Linked DNA regions of Homo sapiens: region 2 is linked to region 1. Evidence: promoter capture Hi-C in 16 types of primary human blood cells and fetal thymus (Javierre and others, 2016). All regions are on one chromosome and are shown on one strand. Each heading gives the region's core, a stretch centred on a gene start or on the middle of the fragment in contact. The rest is flanking DNA. Distances are from core to core; before and after follow the strand shown. Region 1 holds the start of PRSS36 (serine protease 36). Region 2 overlaps STX1B (syntaxin 1B).

What was found. The method cuts DNA at HindIII sites, captures the fragments that hold promoters and counts their contacts. A CHiCAGO score of 5 or more calls a contact.
Region 2: a fragment that was not itself captured here is called in contact with the fragment with the promoter of PRSS36 in region 1 in 15 of 17 cell types (monocytes, neutrophils, M0 macrophages and 12 more); the score reaches 11.7 in monocytes.

Annotation. Positions count from the first base shown.
Region 1 is chr16:31,146,251-31,152,545 of GRCh38, reverse strand. PRSS36 (serine protease 36) reads left to right here and starts at 2,480. Exons shown (of 15, transcript NM_173502.5): 1 at 2,480-2,547; 2 at 2,815-2,850; 3 at 3,048-3,083; 4 at 3,311-3,473; 5 at 3,871-4,151. The coding sequence starts at 2,511. RefSeq lists enhancers at 2,236-2,772, 2,773-3,308, 3,309-3,846. The HindIII fragment of the contact is 9,446 bases long and covers 1-5,017 here.
Region 2 is chr16:30,999,952-31,006,636 of GRCh38, reverse strand. STX1B (syntaxin 1B) reads left to right here. Exons shown (of 10, transcript NM_052874.5): 2 at 5,034-5,108; 3 at 5,444-5,543; 4 at 5,635-5,709. Among named protein-coding and RNA genes, the nearest start is that of STX1B, 7.3 kb to the left of the region's middle. RefSeq lists enhancers at 5,149-5,649, 5,650-6,150. The HindIII fragment of the contact is 2,126 bases long and covers 1,793-3,918 here.

The DNA.
Region 1 (6,295 bases), core at 1,231-3,730:
TAAATGATTGGTTATTTATCCTTTGAAGGGCAAATAGCTACCCAAGCAGCAAGTTAAACAAATGCCTGAGGAGGCTCTCATTGTTAAGAAATCTGAAGTTAAGACTCAATTTACCTCCATCGTTTCCTGTGGACAGGCTAAGGCTAGCAGGTTTATCAATTGAGCCCAGTCCGTTGCTGGGTGGCTGAATTTGCATTTTCCCTCTTCCTGCTCACTTCTCATTTTCCCTCAATCTTGCCACCCTGGGATTGCACCTCCCAATTAAGCACAAGCATGCAGGCTTTGCCTAGGCCTGTTTTCTAGGGCAACTAGACTCATAGACCAATATTATTATTAATTGATATTATCAGTAAGAAGATAGATACACATGTGTAAATATTCCTGGGTTGACCCTGCATTTCTGCTGTCCACCCTGATTTGTTCCCTAAGAGTGACCTTTATGGACCATATAATGGTCTCCCTTGAACTCTGGCCTCTGGGAGGTTTCAATGAAAAGAGCCAGGGGGTGATCAGAGGATGGGAGGATCCCAGCACTTTTGGAAGACTGAGGCAGCAAGATCGCTTGAGACAGGAGTTTGAGACCAGCCTGGGCAACATAATAAGACCCCATCTCTACAAAAATAAAAAACATTAGCTGGGTATGGTGGTGCGTGCCTGTAGTCCCAGCTTCTCAGGAGGCTGAGGCCAGAGGATCGCTTAAGCCCAGGAATTCGAGGTTACAGTGAGCTATAATCACAGCACTGCACTCCAGCCTGGGTGACAGAGTGAGACCGTGTCTCTAAAATTTTTTAATTGGTTTAATTAAAAATAGAGAGGATGAGATGAGAGTGAGATGGGGATTTTTCTTTCCCCACTCCCTCTCTGCTGGTAAAGGCTGCATTTCTCTATTGAAGGCCACGGCTCCTAACAGCTATCTCTTCCATAGCTGCAGCTCTTGCTGGGTTCCAGTAACTGCCCCCTCTCTGCCTCTTCAGGCCAGCAGGTAGCAAGGGCTCTCTATTATTGCTGGCCCCAGGATGCGTTACCATCCCTCTTTGGTTTCCTTTTTTTTTTTTTTTTTGTGAGACGGAGTTCGCTCTTGTCACCCAGGCTAGAGTGCAACGGCGCTATCTTGGCTCACTGCAACCTCCACGTCCTGGGTTCAAGCATTTTTATCTGCCTCAGCCTCCCTAATAGGTGGGATTACAGGTGAGTTCCACCACACTCGGCTAATTTTTGTATTTTTAGTATAGATGGGGCTTCTCCAAGTTAGCCAGGCTGGTCTTGAACTCCTGACCTCAGGTGATCTGCCCGCCTCGGCCTACCAAAGTGCTGGGATTACAGCCGTGAGCCACCCAGCCTCTTTGGTTTCCTTTGACCCTGCCTACACTTCTATAAATAGTTTCTTCCTTAAACTCTCTTCAACTCCTCTTTGAAGAGCCATATGTTTCTTTCTTCTTCTTATTCTTCTTTTTTTTTTTCTTTTTGTTGTTGTTGTTGAGACAGGGTCTCGCTTTGTCACCCAGGCTGGAGTGCAGTGGCACAATCATAGCTCACTGCAACCTCGACCTCCCAGGCTCAAGCAATCCTCCCACCTCATCTCCCGAGTAGCTGGGATACAGACGTGCACCACCACGCCCTGCAGTTCATAATTTTTGTATTTTTTAATTTTTTGTAGAGATGGGGTCTTGCTATGTTGACCAGGCTGGTCTTGAACTCCTAGCCTCAAGCAATCCTCCCACCTCAGTCTCCCAGAGTGTTAGGATCACAGGAGTGAGCCACCGTGCTCGGCCAAGTCATATGTCCCTTAAACTGGCTCTTACTGATACACACCAAGAGGTTGGGTTACTTTCCCAAAGTCACACAGAGTAAGTGACAGGGCAGCTAAGAGCATTGTCACTGGAACACAGAGCAGGGTGGAGGCTTTTTCAGCCTCGCCAGCCTGCCCAGCCCCCTCCCAGGGTCCCTATGCCCTGCCCAACCTGCTGGAATCTGTGATCCTTTTGTTGGGATGGGATTGAATTCCCTAGGGCTCCTGTCCCAGACCTGGCCAGCAGCTCCAGTAACCAGAGCTGTGTGAGAAGAAAAGGCCAAGCCACTGGGGCAGCCGCACCCCAAACAGAGGTGAGGTCTCCGATGAGTCATGCCCGTGAGGGGCCACTTCCCCTGTCCTAAGGGCCACTGCTCACCAAGGACACAGAACACTGTCCTCCTCTTTGACCTTTGCCTGCAGTGTTTTTCATCCCTCCCTCTCCCACCCAACAGGTGTCCAGGAGCTAGGACACCTGTCCTCCACCCCCACCCTGGGCCTCCAGAGACATGAGATGTGCGCAGGGCTCTGGGTGGGGCCTTCAGGCTCCCCAGCTTCCCCCTTCCAGCCCCAGATCCTCTCAGATTCCCAGAGATGGGCTCCAGCCAGGGAGGGTGGGGCTGCCCCTGGGACCATCAGGAGTCACGGGCTGCCTGGGCAGTGACAGAGCCCTGCAGGGAGCAGACCTTCACTTGGCTCTGCCTCCGCTGACTCTAGCGCCATGGCCCGGCACCTGCTCCTCCCCCTTGTGATGCTTGGTAACCTCAGGGGACAAGAGTGGCTGCAAAGGGCCTGGGTCCTGGCATCTGGGGGGCTGGAGAGCAGGATTCCTGGTTTCTGTGTGGGGAGCAGGAAGTCAGAGAGAAGGAAGTGAGGCAGCAGAAGGCGAGGATGTATCAGAGGAGGGAGAGGGAGGCCTGGGTGCCCTGGGGAGACGGAGGCTAGGAGGCTGGGGGAGGGAGTCAGGGAGGGCACATACTGAGTGCGAGTCGCCAGCCTCTTCCTGCCTACCTCTGTCTTTCCAGTCATCAGTCCCATCCCAGGAGCCTTCCAGGACTCAGGTAAGGTAGCCGGACTGGGGGAAAGTCACGTGCAGAGGCAGAAAAGACCAGAGGACTGGCATGGGTGCTGGCAGGGGTTGCTGAACGGACAGGGAAGTGGGAAGATAGGGTCGGGGGTTGGAGAGCAGGAAGTGGGGCTGGGCGGTGCAGGCCTGGAAGTCACAAGTGTCCTCCTCTCTTTCCCCTCTGGCTCCCAGCTCTCAGTCCTACCCAGGAAGAACCTGAAGATCTGGGTAAGGAAGAGGCCTTGGCACCCTCAGACCTTAAAGGAGGCTAAGGCTGGTCAGGCCATGAGGGAGGTGGAAAAGACCAGAAATGTAGACAAGCCTGGGTCCTCTATGTTCTTTGTTCAGAGGGGCAAACTGAAGTGGGTGGAGGACGGGCCTTCGTCCTGAGTTACCTGGGCTTCTGGAGTGGGGAACCCGAGGGGAGCTTTGGCTTCCACGGCTCCCCGTTGCAGACTGCGGGCGCCCTGAGCCCTCGGCCCGCATCGTGGGGGGCTCAAACGCGCAGCCGGGCACCTGGCCTTGGCAAGTGAGCCTGCACCATGGAGGTGGCCACATCTGCGGGGGCTCCCTCATCGCCCCCTCCTGGGTCCTCTCCGCTGCTCACTGTTTCATGACGTGAGTATTCGCCCTGGTCCTGGCCCCTCTCCGCCAAAAGCTGGCCCCCGCCCCCGCAGTTGGTCCCCTCCTCCCGCCCCACTTCCGTCCTCAAGGATAATTTGGAGCCAAGCTGTCCCCAAAGCGAGGTGCTATTCGAGGCATCATGGTTCCGAGTGGGGCAAGGCTGCCGGACTGGTCCCACCACTCCACTCAATATCCGGGTCTGAATCCCATCTTTCCAATGACCCCCCCACCACCAGCTCCAAATCGGATTTGCTCTTCCCCTTTGAGGAGTATCAGCACCAAATCTGGATCGGATAGCACCTGCCCCTCTGGCTCTGAGCCCCTGCCCCCAACGAGGGTCTGCCCCCTCCATAGGGTCAACCTAACCTCCTACTGCCCCGGTCGAGCGCAGGAATGGGACGCTGGAGCCCGCGGCCGAGTGGTCGGTACTGCTGGGCGTGCACTCCCAGGACGGGCCCCTGGACGGCGCGCACACCCGCGCAGTGGCCGCCATCGTGGTGCCGGCCAACTACAGCCAAGTGGAGCTGGGCGCCGACCTGGCCCTGCTGCGCCTGGCCTCACCCGCCAGCCTGGGCCCCGCCGTGTGGCCTGTCTGCCTGCCCCGCGCCTCACACCGCTTCGTGCACGGCACCGCCTGCTGGGCCACCGGCTGGGGAGACGTCCAGGAGGCAGGTGAGTGGGACGGGACAAGAGGGGAGGGCCTCGGGGAGGTGGGGCTTCGAGAGGTGAGGTTCCTAGGGCGGGGCCTCAGGAGGTGGGGCCACGGAGCGGAGCCTGCGGGGAGCGTTGGAGGGTAGGTTTCTGCGGGTCGGTGGATGAATCCCACACCGATCTCCATGTAGCCTTCTCCCTGCAAGGATTCTCAAACTAAGACCACGGAATCACCCACACGCACCCCATTCCCTCCTTACCTGTCCTTCCAGTTTTTTCTTTCCTGGGTTTAGGCTCCGACTAGGGTTCCCATCCCAGCTCTAACATGTCAGACAAAGCACTTCACCCAGTACATTTCCTCATCTGTAACACGAGGAAAATAGCCATACCCACTTCAAGGGGTGGTTGAGTGGATTAAATGAGAAAATCCATGTAAAGTTCATAGTACAGTGCCTGGCATAGCAATAACCAATGCACTTTACATATTTCACCTCAGGTAATCTATAGTAAAGCACTACAGCATAAGGCTGGCCTATAATAGATATTCAGCAAATGCCAGTCTGTGCCTCCCTCCCATCCGCCTTCCTCTCATTCCATCCACCCCCACTCATCTCTCTACTCCCCACCTCCTCTCTTCTTCCTACCCACCATCATTCATTCAATCATTCTTTCACTCAAGATATTTCTTGAGCACCTTCTACATGCCAGGCACCGTGTTAGGCATTAGAGAGACACCAGTGAACATAAAAAGCCAAAATCCTGCCTTTTCAGAGTTTACATCCTAGGAGATAGACAAGCAACAAATTCAATAAATAAGCACGCATTATGTTAGAAGGTGGGGGGGAATAGACCAAATCTCCATCCCCATCATCCCCATCACCCAAGCTTTCCATGCTCCCAGGGCCCCCACAAATATCCACATCAGCCGTGGTCAGACCTGTGCCCATCCTCGGGGCTTTGGGTAGGTGCTACAGGGGAAGATGCTACAGCCTCTGCTTGTGGAGGTCCCATCAGGGCAGGAGGTGATGAGGAAGCGTCACTGTGAGCCCCAGGAAGTCTGTGTGAATGGGGCCAGGCCATCCTAACAATGGGCACCCAGAGAGGGAGATTTCTGCAGAGATTTTTGAAGAGAGGGTACATTGCAGGAAGATGGGGGGAGATGAAGGCCACCCTGTGGACCCAGATAAGTCATGTTAGATGAAGAAGGGCCAGGATGCCAGGCTGGAGTGAGAGGGGTACAGGCACCTGGGCTGCAAAGGCTGCTGTGGCCCGGCCATGAAGACCTTAAGATCAGACTGAGGGCCAGAGCACCCCACCAGCTCCAGGGACGCCCAGGACAATCCCCAACTTCCCTGGTGAGCCCCAAGTACAGCTTCAGCCATCACCTGACCTCAAATTCTTTTCTTTTTTTCATCAATTCTTTTTTTCTTTTTGAGACAGAGTTTCACTCTTGTTGCCCAGGCTGGAGTGCAACGGCGCGATCTAGGCTCACTGCAACCTCCGCCTCCCAGCTTCAAGCAGATTCTACTGCCTCAATCTCCCAAGTAGCTGGGATTATAGGCACCCACCACCACGCCCAGCTAATTTTTTGTATTTTTAGTAGAGACAGGGTTTCACTATGTTGGGCAGGCTAGTTTTGAACTCCTAACCTCAGGTGATCCACCTGCCTCGGCCTCCCAAAGTGCTGGAATTACAGGTGTGAGTCACCGCGCCTTTGACCTCAGATTCTGAGTGAGTTGGGGAAGGAGTTCTGTCTGTACTTCCCCCCACCCCCTACTCCTTTCTGGATCCTGAAGCTGTTTCCGTCAAAAGCAGGATGGGCTGCAGCACCAAGTTTAGACAGTGTGATCCGTTTATTTTTCTTGGTGAGATCAGAACTGAACTTGAGTAGCATTCCTCTTCATTGCTGAAGTGAAGAGTGGATCAGAAGGCTGGGTCAGTTATCCAGGCCCAAAGCTATGCAGCCTCAACTAGTGTAGTTGTTTAGAATGCCAAGACGTCACAAATGAGAGGTTTTCATGAACTGGGAACTGACTGGAGGAGGGGAGTTGAGAGAGGAGACAGGGATGACACCCAGATTCCATGCTTGGCAACTCAGGACAGGACCATGTCAAGTCCGTATGGCATCTCTGTGAAAAGATGTCTCTGGACCAACACAACTCCAC
Region 2 (6,685 bases), core at 1,606-4,105, 150 kb after region 1:
AGAAATCCTTCCACAATCCCCCCCAATTCCCATGTCTCTCAATTCCATCTTTCTGCTTATCTCCCTCCTGCTATTCAGCACAATCTGAAATGGTCTTGTTCACCTCCCATTGTCTGCCTCCCCCACTGGAATGCCAGCTCCCTGGAGGCAGGCCCTCCTCGCCTGTCTTCTTCACCACCACATCGCCAGCAGCACCCAGAAGAGTACCTGGCACAAATCAGACACATCCGTTAGATGAATGAATGACTCCATGAAGCAGAGGGAGGATGAGAAAGGGGCAGGGGGTAAGGCAGGAAAGATGGAGGAGAGAGGTCAGGGTGAGAGGGCCAGGCTGCTCAGGGGGAGGGAGCAAGGAGAGGCCCCAGCCAGGGAGACAGATGGACTGAAGCAGAGGGTGGGGGAAAGGGCGCAGGGGGAGGCTGCTGCCTCCGATCAAACGATGATGCTTGCACCCCTGAGGAGCATGGGAAGCCCGTGTGTGTCAGTGCTGGGGCACGCATATGTTTACACACACACACGTACACACACGCACACTCTCTCTGACTTTTCTGTCACCCAATTCCAGTCTCTTGCCGCCTCTGTGTTTTTGTCACCGTCTCACCATCTGTCTCTCTGGTCACTGACTTGCTGGCTCTCACTGTCACTCTCCTCCTTCCGCTTCTGTATCTGTCCTTGCCGTCGCTCCACATCGACATACACACAAGGCCCGTGGTGGCTCTGGTGTGGAAGACCTGGACTTAGGGGGCCCCTGAGGAGGTCAGGCTGCAGCTGGAGGCTTGGATCTGATGTGCGCAGTCCCCAGGTGCTTCTGGAAGGGGCTCAGGGGCACTGCACTCTCTCATTCAATCCCTCTCAAGTGCTCAAGGAGCTGTGCGCTGTAGAGCAGAGTGCCTGAGTTTGAGTCATCCCATCAGCTGTGTGATCTTGGGCAAGTTACCCAATCTCTCTGCGCCTCCACCTCCTCATCTGTCCAGTGAGAATAAGAATATGACCTCATGGAGTGGTCGTGAGGATTAAACAAGAGATGCAGGCTGGGTGCAGTGGCTCACACCTGTCATCCCAGCGCTTTGGGAGGCCAAGGAGAGAGGATCTCTTGAGCCCAGGAGTTCGAGACCAGCCTGGGCAATATAGTGAGATCCCATCTCTCAAAAAAAAAAAAAAAAAAAGGAAAAAGAAAAAAAAAGAAATGCAAAGCACTTGTAATAGGACCCAACTCGTGGTAATCAGCACATATATGTTACATCCTCGATTTGCACATGAGGCAACTGAGGCTTGAATCGTTCACCTGTAACCTGAGGCCACCATAAAGTAGACTGGGGCACATTTGATCATCTTTTCCTAGGTAGTCTGGTTTGCCCACAGCCTGCTTTCTTTTTGGCTGGCCTAACTTCTTCCAGAAATGGATGCTGTACTCATTACTAAATATGCATCACTCAGAGCACGGAGGGCCCTTCAGAGCAGGGTGGGCACTTGCACCAGTCTGCTCATTTCAGTGATGAGGGAACTGGGGCCCAGGGAGGAGTCTAAGTTTGCCTGGGGTCACACAGCAAGACAGACGGAGGCTGGGAGGGATGGCCTCCTGTCCAAGCTCTTCCTGCAGCCCTGGGCCCCTCCTACTGATTTTCTGTCCTGGCTGCAGGAGTTCAGCAGTCCTGAGGACATGGCAGAGTGGGCTTTTTAGGACCAGGAGGGACTGCCATCTGTCAGCAGGACAGAAGGGAGAGAGCCTGACATTTAGTGCCAGACAGTCCTGGGTTCAGGTCCTACCTCTGGCCTCATTTGCTGTGAAGCTTTAGGCAGGTCAGGCAACCTCTCTGAGCCTGTTTCCTTGTCTGTAACATGGAATCAGCCGGTGGTAGGCATTGTTACCACTCAGCAAATGCAGAGACTAGGCTCAGGGGTAGAGCCAAATGGTCTTCTAACAGCTGACCTGGGGCAAGTTCTTTTTTTTTTTTTTTTAAGAAACGGGGTCTTGCTCTGTCACCCAGGCTGGAGTGCAGTGGCACAATCACAGCTCACTGCAGTCTCTTGACCTCCTGAGCTCCGGGGATCCTCCTACCTCACCCTCCCAAGTAGCTGAGACTACAGGTGCGCACCACCATGCCCAGCTAATTTTTGTATTTTTTGTAGAGACATGATCTTGCTATGTTGCCCAGGCTGGTCTTGAACTCCTGGGTTCAAGTGATCCTCCCACCAGAGCCTCCCAAAGTGCTGGGATTACAGGCGTGAGCCACTACAACTGGCCTGAGTTATTTAGCTCTATGCCTCAGTTTCCCCATCTATAAAAGGGGGCTATAATAATACCTCCAAGGGGACTGTTGTAAGAATGAAATGGATAGATATATGTGGAGCACATAGAACAGTGCCTGGCACATTGTAAAACATCATCTAAATATTTGCATAAGTATAATTATGTTGGCCAATGGTCCTTACAGAGTCCTAATGAAGATTAAATGAGATAACAAGAATGTAAGACTTACGCAAAAAATACCATCAAGTGCTCTTGTTTTGCTAGGTTGTCCGGACACAGAGCCTTCCCCAGATTGGGACTTAGCAGGCGCTCACTGAGAGGGAAAGTAACTGGGAGCGGAAAGTCAGTGGGGGAGGTAGCCCAGTCTGGAGCCTAACAGCGGTCTTTGAGGGGCTGGATGCCCATGGTTTTCTGGCCCTATGTGGCCTGGGTGCCCTTGGGCAAGTCACTCTCCTTTTACCCCCCTGGCTTCCTGTTCCCTCATCTGTGAAATGGGGACGATGATGTTTATGCAGCTTTTCTCTCAGGGCTGGTGGTGCTGAGGATCAAAACGGATTATGGATGTAAAAGTGTTTGTAAATGGTAGAGGATTATTAGCTCCCAGCTCTCTTTGTATTTATTATACCAAATAAACCACACTTGGGCCTTCTATCATTCTTCCTGTCTTGAGGGCAAACAAATAGGTAGCCCAGGGTGCTCCAGAGATGAACCTAAGGGAGGTGGCTCCAAGAACAACAGGAGAGATTGAAATTAGATTTTAGGAAAGACTTCCTAACATTAGCATGGGGAAGGGAGAGACACAGAGAACAGGAAAGTCCTCAGGCACCCGGGCCAGGGAGAGGCCGCATGACCTGCGTGAGGCTGGTGGCTGAGTGAGTGGTTGAAGGGAGAGAAAGGGCAGAGGAAGGCTTTTGGCTCTAGGGGAAGGAGGCCTTGTAGCACAGCTGGATTTTGAGGACAGAGAAAGTGAAGAGCATCATGGTAGGCCGATGGGTCCTCAGAGGTGAGCCCAGCATCCCAGAGCCTCTCAGGGTCCCCAACTTATGCCACCTGTGCCGCCCCACTTTCTGGGGGCAGCTGTGAGCCAAGACAGAGGAAACTCCCTTTCCAGGCGGATGGTTGGGATTGTCTGGAAATTCAACACAAGTGCTGAACACATTTTCCGACACAGTGTGGGCCCAGCGTCTGTGTGAAGACTCCCTGGAGTTCCATTTGGGCTGGGCTTAGCAGGGAGGCTGGGGTGGCTCAGGAGCGTGGAGCTGGAGGCCCCCCAGGCTGTGCTGGCTTTTCCTGGGGCTGTGGGGCACTGCTGATCCTGAGTTTTGGCTGTGTGGACTGCACCTAGGTCCCATCTGGCCCTGTCTAGGTTCAATCTGAGCTGTCTGGGATCTGTCTGGGATCCGTGTGAGCCTCGGCTAGTTCAGTCTGAGCCTGTCTGGTTTCTGTTAGGCCCTGTCTGCGTTCCGCTGGGACCCTGGCAAGCTCTTCTTTTTGGATTCCAACTGAGTACACCCCCAGGTGGATGCTGTTTGGATCCTGTCTTGATTTCACCCAGCCTCTGGGGTTTGGATTCTGTCTGAGCTCTGGCTGGGTTCTTTTTGGAAATCAGAATGAACTCTGTATACATTTCCACTGGGGCTGATCAGGGCTCCAGATGTCATTAAGCTTGATGGACTCAGATTTTGCTGTCAGACCTCTGTCCCAAGCAGAGAAGGACTCAGGTGTGTGTAGCACAGGGCACCTCCCCTACAGCCTCTCCTGTCCAGCTCTGAGTGTGTGTGCAGACATGAGGCTCGGAGAAGCTGGAAGAACAAGCCCAGTGAGCCCTCCCAAATGTCCTCAGGGGTGCAGCTGAAAGCCAGTGTGTCCACACATGTCAGTGCGGCTCAGCTGTGAGTCTGCGTGCGGGTGAACGCCAGCATCAGTGCATCTCCGTGTGGGTGTCGGGGGGGCCTATTCCTGTGTGCCTTGGGTGTCAGCTCTTCTGTCTGTGTCTCGAGTCTGTCTGTCGGTGGCAGTGGTGCTGTGGGTGGGTAAATCTCTTTGTGTCTCTGAGCCCTGCGGGTGGAGGGTTGAGCAGCTGCAGGTTGCAACTGGGAAATCCAAGCCAGCAAGAGTAGGTGGGTGTGAAGTTGGAAGGGGCTGGATGAAAGCAAGTGAATCCACTGCGAGGGAGAGCCGGCTGGGAGGGGAGGGAGAGTGGGCGGGAAGAGGGGGGCACAGGGCGCGAGGGAGGTCGGGGTGCTGCCCGTATCTCTTATCCAGCCCTCACTGCTTGCTCAACTTGGCGCCTGCCGCTGGCAGTGAAGTGACCTTGCACAGGGGACATGTCTGGTCAGGTGGGGCAGGAGAGGAAGAGAAGGAGTAAAGTGAGATCTGGGCAGGAGAGCAGGAACAGTAGGGAGATCCAGGCTCCCGGGACTCTAGTCCAGGACCCTTCATGGAGCCCAGGGTCAGTTACTGCAAGCCTGACGTTGAGCCGTTGTTGAAATATTGAAATCATCCCTATTGGCTGGTCAAGGCTGGCTCTGCGCCCCCAAGGCCACATCCACCCTGAGAGGGGGTCTTTTTCCAATTCCTTCTAAGGAATCCTTTGGGCTGACAAACACTTTTGGTGCCTTTGCCATCTACCCTGCATGGGACCCCTCCCAGGACCCCTCCTCTGAGCCTAGAGCTGGGAGCACCTGTGTGTGCATAGCAGGGAGAGGGTGGGAGAGCTGGAGAGCCAGCCTTGGGGACCCAGGTAGGGCCTGCTCATGGACTCAGCCTTCCTTGTCCCCAGGCGAAAGACAGTGATGATGAAGAGGAGGTGGTCCACGTGGATCGGGACCACTTCATGGATGAGTTCTTTGAACAGGTAATGGGCCTCCAAGGCCCCCAGCCCCAGCCCCAGCCCCAGCACCCAGCCCCAGCCCCTAGTCCCACCGCCCAGCCTCAGCCCCGGCACCCAGCCCCAGCCCCAGCACCCAGCCCCAGCCCCTAGTCCCACCGCCCAGCCGCAGCCCCGGCACCCAGCCCCTAGCCACCGACAACTTCCTTTTCCCTGTCCCCCACTTCCCTGCTCCTGCACCCTCCCTGGCCTTTTATCAGCCGTTCTGGGGCTGGTCCATTCCCCTGAACCCTGGCTGGTTCCCCTGGAACCCGTTGTTTGGCCTGACAGCTTGGCTGGGTATAGCCGATTTTCTGCTCCAGGTGGAAGAGATCCGGGGCTGCATTGAGAAACTGTCGGAGGATGTGGAGCAGGTGAAAAAACAGCATAGCGCCATCCTGGCCGCACCCAACCCAGATGAGAGTGAGTGTGGCTGCCGGTGACTGTGGGGTGGGAGGAGAAGGGGCCTGGGGTTCCCACCCAGACATCTCACTTGCCCTCGCCCTCCCCTCAGAGACCAAACAGGAGCTGGAGGATCTCACTGCAGACATCAAGAAGACGGCCAACAAGGTTCGGTCCAAATTGAAAGGTGAGGAGTACAATCCCTCAACCAGGAAGGAAAAGAATTGTGGGTGGAGCATGGTGGCTCAGGCCTTTGGGAGGGCGAGGCGGGGCCAATTGCTCAATCCCAGGAGTTCAACACCAGCCTGGGCAACATGGCAAAACTCTGTCTCTACAAAAAATACAAAAATTAGCTGGGCCAGTTTGGGAGGCCGAGGCGGGTGAATCACGAGGTCCGGAGTTCAAGACCAGCCTGGCCAAGATGGTGAAACCCCATCTCTACTAAAAGCACAAAAATTAGCTGGGTGTGGTGGCGGGCGCCTGTAATCCCAGCTACTCAGGAGGCTGAGGCAGAGAATTGCTTGAACCCGGGAGGTGGAGGTTACAGTGAGCTGAGATCGCGCCACTGCACTACAGTCTGGGTGACAGAGAGAGACTCTGTTTCAAAAAAAAAAAATTAGCTGGGCATGGTAGTACGTGCCTCTGTTCCAACTACTTGGGAGGCTGAGGCACAAGAATCGCTTGAGCCCAGGGGGTCGAGGCTGCAGTGAGCCGAGATCATGCTGCTGTACTCCAGCCTGGGTTACAGATAGAGACCCTGTCTCAAACAAAAAAAAAAAAAACAAAAAACAAACAAACAAAAAAAAAGGGACTGGGCGTGGTAGCTCATGCCTATAATCCCAGAACTTTGGGAGGCCAAGGTGGGTGGATCACCTGAGGTTAGGAGTTCAAAATCCTAACCAAATCCTGGCCAAAATGGTGAAACCCCATCTGTACTAAAAATACAAAAATTATCCGGGCATGGTGGCAGGCGCCTGTAATCCCAGCCACTTGGGAGGCTGAGGCAGGGGAATCACTTGAACCCGGGAGGCAGAGGTTGCAGTGAGCCGAGATCGCGCCACTGCACTCCAGCCTGGGTGACAGAGCAAGACTCTTTCTCAAAAAAAAAAAAAAAGAACTTTGCCATCCATTGAGCAAAACAGGCCTTTCTCTAAGGAATTTCT